Linked DNA regions of Homo sapiens: region 1 is linked to region 2. The links are contacts of gene promoters, found by promoter capture Hi-C in human tissues and cell types (Jung and others, 2019). All regions are on one chromosome and are shown on one strand. Each heading gives the region's core, a stretch centred on a gene start or on the middle of the fragment in contact. The rest is flanking DNA. Distances are from core to core; before and after follow the strand shown.

Region 1 (2,700 bases), core at 180-2,679, 560 kb after region 2:
TTATTGAAAAACCAGGGATGTGATGACCTTTATTTAAGCACAGCCTGCAGCACATTCCTGAAGATGATTTCCTCCATCGGCACAGAACACACAAACAGACAAGTGAATAAGCAAAGCCAACCCTACTCCCCATCAAGATGCCAGCCTGAGAGCTGCTGCGCTCCACAGAGCCAGGTGCTGGATTTGTGCTAATTGGATGAACAGTCTCATTCGCTTGATGGCTTTGATCTGTGCTTTGGGCTGTTCCATCAAGATTTCTTAAACACAAATTGATCTCTGCTAATTCATGCGTCACCACTGAATATTTTGACACCTGACACCTCCTCACTTTGGGGAATCAGTGGAGGCTGGCAAGCTAGTGGTCTTAGACATTCTCTACCCTTCCACGCAGCAAAGCTTCCTGAGCCCAGAATCTCTGCATAAACACCTGCTCTAAGGAATCTTTCTATACAATTATCTCATCCCATTTGTCTCCCTTTCCTACTTCCTCCTCCTGCCCCAACTTTCTTGCCCTTTTCAATTTTTGTTCCAATACCTACTTCTCTCCCTTTACCTCCTCATCTCGCTAGTCCTTTAGTTTCTCTCATCCTTTTCCCACTTCATTTTCTTCCCTCCGGCACTGATGAAAGCTGCATCTCCTTTTCCCATCCTGTTTCCCATCTGCTCCTTAGAGCCCTCTCTCCTCAGCTGCCACCTCTGCCATCACCTCTCCCCACTTCCTCCTTTGCACACTGCGATGATCCCTCTCTCGCCAGGCTCTGTACAGCTGAGCCAGCCTATGTGTGGGGGCTAGTCCTGTGAGTGATGAGAAGGAGGAAGCCATAGGATGCTGAAGTTGTAGGAAGAAGCACTCAGGTGTGATTGAGAAACCCCACCTCCTTCCCTGCTGCAAGCACTGAGCAGTGTCCCCAAAGGCCAAGAGTACAAACGCGGAACATGCCCACATTTCAGTCCTCCAAACAGCCTTCTGTCTGCAGACAAATAGAACCAGGGAAGCGCAAACTCACGCTTCAGCAAATTACCTTGGTCAGGCACTCTGAGCAGCAATTAACATTTATCAGAATAAAATATCTGTTGGACCAGTGAATGAACCCATCAATAATGCTGTACACAGAGCCAAGCTTCACATCAACATGCATATTTATTTACTAATGATCAATCATGGACCAACAAAATTAGACTGAAATCTAAAGTAATGACAACAACAATTATAAGATAAATATATAACATTTATACATCAAGGTAGCAGGATGCAATAATACCGCCTAACCTATTTCCCCCAGCCATTCTGCATTACTAACTCATTTCATTCTCACAGTGCCGCCAAGGGATTTCATTCTTCCCTGTGCACACTCCTCGCTAGTCATGCCAGACGTTTCCCTGACATCTCAGAGGTTTGTCTCAGCTCCAGGACTTTGCACAGCTCTACTTCTGCCTGGAGGGTCCACTCCTACTGTCTCTTTCTAACCTCTTCTTGCTCATCATGTAAGACCCAGCTCAAGTGTTACCTTCACTCTAAAACTTTCCCTGATCTATGCAGCAGAATTTCATCTTCATTTGTTTGTTGAACATATTGATGTACTGGGCACTGCGTCAGGGGTGAAACTATGGCACTGAGTGAGAGAGAAAAGGCTCCACTCTCATGGCTCTCACCTGGATCTGCATGCCCCATAACATGCACTGAACATGTCAGCATTTCCACTTTGCTTACTTCCAGCTCACCTACTGCATGGTTCTTGCATAAGGGAGACACCATACTTGAGTCTCTATGTATAATAAATGTTGGTTGAATGAATAAATAAATGAAGGAGGAAACTGAGACTCAATAGATTAAATGATTTGCACAAGATCACACCTTTAGTACATGAGTGAGCCAAGCCTGGAGCTCAGGGTTCCCATCCCTTAATCTCCTACCAGCCCCAAGTTTCTCTGTATGGCAGAAATACCTTTTTCCCTCACTTCATACTTGTCATTCAAGGCAAGCATAGGCCAGGCTATGAGTGAAGGCCAATGACTAAAGGGAAAGAGCGTTTCTGGCAGCATCATTTTCAAGTATCAGATGGATCTTGGAAATGTATGTGTGAGTGTCTGTTGTTACATAATATTTAAAGTTGACCATGATATAGAGTCAGTGTTCACTACAGTTTTAGCCTTTACATTATACAGGCTAGCTAATGTTCATTTCCTTTGTAATATCAGTATTATCTAGGTATTATTATTACTACTAATAATAACTAGCTTTGAGATCCAACCTGCTATTAAGCATGTAATATTATTTCTAATTCCAACAAAATCCTTGGAAGTTAAGAATTAGCCTTATTTTTATCAATAAGCAAACAAGAATCCTGAGGAGCAAAATGACTTGTTCAAGGACACAAACTGGCAGATACTAGATTTGGGATCTGACCCAGATGTGCTTAGCATTATGTGTTTTCCATTCTGTGGCACTCTGGTGTGTATTCCATGTTTCCCAGGGAGCACAGAGCCTTGAACTCAACTGAGAATTTTCTCAAAGTATGTACTAAACACATTGGTGGTCTACAAGGAAGGTGGGGGAGTCTGTCCTCCGACACAATTATGGTTTTCTAAACCAAGGGCAAGAAGAAGCCACTGTGATTGTGGCACTTGGCCTATTAAGTGGAAAATGCCCTCACAGTCATGGAGATTTACAGTAAAGGCATATGCAGTCAACCTCTCACA
Region 2 (2,700 bases), core at 144-2,643:
GGTCTCTGGAGGCAGCCACTGCTCTTGCTGCCCCTGGGAAACTGATCCTGGCATCTGCTAAAGGGTGTGGGCTGGTGCCCATCCAGGAAACAAGGTGTGGGAAATTATAGGTCCTCTTTGGACCTGTTGTGCAGCCAAAATTGGAGGATTTGCATCACACAGTCTGGCTAGATCTCATCCTAAGATCTCAAGTCAGTCTGACGTCTGTCTCCTGGGGCAGAACTTTGGATTGGGGAATGTGGGAGTGGGGAGGAGCCAGGTGAGCAGGGATTTTTCTACCCACATGACAGCCTTCTGGGGACACCTGCTGGTGGTGATCACATAGCTCTTCAGCCTCTGCAAGGAGATCTTCTTACTGCTAAATGTGAAGCAGCAAGTAGATGGGACGTTGAGTGCATCTAGAAATAGTTACAAAGAAAAAGACTTTGAGGATGTGTTAGGCTTTTCTCAGCTTGAATACAGCAGGGAGCATCTGTATGGGATGCAAAGCAAAGAGGAAGAAATAGATCTTACTCACCCCCAAGCCCAGCACTCCCACCCTAGACCCTGAGGTGAGGTGGGACCTGTGACATGTGCCTCAGGATCTCAAAGGCTCAGCTGCATGGTGGAGACATGTCACAGCCATCTAGGGGAGGCCACGGGCAAGGCCAGTGGGAAAGGTCCTGGGTGTGGTCCCAGATCTGCAGAGTTTGGGACGATCAGATGAGGTCAAAGAAAAGGCCCTAAATCTGGAGTCAGAAGCTTAGGTTTCATTCTTGCTCTGCAATAACCTGGAGGTGGATGGCTAGGGTCCCTTCTGCCTCCAACATGGGCTTCAGCTTTCTATCTTTAAAATTAGATGTTAAAGTGAACCTCTGAGGAGCCTTACTATTCTGGTGGGCTTAGAAGTGGGGCACTTGGCTGGGCCTGGTGGCTCACGCCTGTAATCCCAGCACTTTGGGAGGCCGAGACGGGAGGATCACTTGAGGTCAAGAGTTTGAGACCAGCCTGGCCAACATAGTGAAACCCCTTCTCTACTAAAAATACAAAAATTAGCTGCACGTGATGGCGGGTGCCTGTAATCACAGCTACTCAGAAGGCTGAGGCAAGAGAATCGCTTGAACCTGGGAGGTGAAGGTTGCAATGAGCCAAGATCGCACCCCTGCACTTCAGCCTGGGCAACATAATGAGACTCAATCTAAAAAAAAAGTGGAGGAGCACTCGGGCTTAGGTCTTCCTTGAATAGAGAAACAGAGGGAAAGAGAGGGAGAGTCGAAGGGAGGTGACTTACCTGGCTGAGCAAGTCCCTGGGGGTTGAAAGCTGCTGTCATGAGCAGCAGGCACAGAAGCACTGCAGAGACTTTCATGTTGAAGGTTAAGAGTTGGAGATTTCACAATGTTTCTTTGCCTCTCTGCTCCTCTGGCTGTTCCGCCGGCCTTTTATAGGGAGTGGAGAAGCTTGGAACTCTCAGAGGACCTTGGCCTGAGCAGGGCGTTGACCAAGTCATGATGAAGGGGGATCCTGAATCTGCTGAGCTGGAGCTGGGCACCAAAGACTTTTCTAGGAAATGCAAGAGGGAAGCTGAGGGCTGAAACAGCATGGCATGGCTTCCTTCTGGCTGTTCAGGCCACAAGGAGCCAGAGAGGAGAAAGGGACACAGACGCGCCCCAGCCATTCACCATGGGAAGCCATAAAGGAGCTGTTTTCTTCTTACTTTCTCCAACAGGAAAGAGAAAAACAATGAAAATTAACTCCTGTAGAGAAAGAGTGCTGTGCTAAGGACTCTGTTCACGTTATATATTTAGTTTGAGGAGGTACATACCATTATTATCATGCCCATTTCATAGAAGAGGAAACGGATGCAGAGAGATTAAATAACTTGACCAAAATCTTATGGGAAATGAGAGGGAAAGCTAGAAGAGAAAGCTGGTCTGCTTATATTTTATCACCAAGGCAGTTTCAACTTTTGTTTAGCAGCAGAAGTCTTTTTCCAAGTCAACTTTTATGTGGAAGTCTAATATCTGAAACAGATTAAGTCAGATTTCTGATGACAGGGGCTCCTTACATTACATATTGTGTCCCCTTCTGCCCCTCAGGCCCAGAGGGACATGGTTCAAACACCTCTGATTGATGCAGGCCCCGTGTTTCCAGGAAGGACCATTGGGTTTCTAGAGCTGTTGATGGGAGGGCTGGGGTGGCCCTCAGAGCAAAGAAGTGAGGTGTTTGGCCCATTCCTGGGCTCCTCCTGCGAGGGGCACATATCTGGGAGCTGGGAGGTGGGGAGGGAATGGCTTAAAATGGTTGAACATGTCCCTTTCCCACTCATCCCTAGCTCCAAGACTTGGCACAGTTTTTGTGCCTTCCTGGAATACTCATCCCTCTGCATTCCACTATAGCAAAATAAGCCCAGTGAAAGTAAAGGGAAGAAATAAAGAGCTAGGATTAGAGAAATAGGAAACAGTAAATATTAGAAAGGATAGATGAAGCCCAAAGCTGGTTCTGTAGCCTATAATTAAGCTAAAACTCTCCTGAACTGAAAATGAAAAAAAAAAGAAAAAAGGGGCTGAGGCGGGGGGATCACTTGAGGTCAAGAGTTCTAGAGCAGCCTGGACAACATGGTAAAACCCTGTCTTTACTAAAAAAAATACAAAAATTACCCAGGCATGGTGGCACATGCCTGTAATCCCAGCTACTTGGGAGGCTGAGGCAGGAGAATTGCT

What was found. Contacts are between HindIII fragments. The study calls those that stand out against the background at their distance.
Region 1: a fragment that was not itself captured here is called in contact with the fragment with the promoter of CCL13 in region 2 in 1 of the 25 tissues and cell types used here (dorsolateral prefrontal cortex).

What each region holds. Positions count from the first base shown.
Region 1 is chr17:33,796,008-33,798,707 of GRCh38, reverse strand. It overlaps a transcript of ASIC2 not described here. Among named protein-coding and RNA genes, the nearest start is that of ASIC2-AS1, 240 kb to the right of the region's middle. The HindIII fragment of the contact is 3,291 bases long and covers 1-2,700 here.
Region 2 is chr17:34,355,173-34,357,872 of GRCh38, reverse strand. It overlaps CCL13 (C-C motif chemokine ligand 13), which reads right to left and starts at 1,393. Exons shown (of 3, transcript NM_005408.3): 1 at 1,271-1,393; 2 at 284-398. The coding sequence starts at 1,346. The HindIII fragment of the contact is 2,821 bases long and covers 1-2,320 here.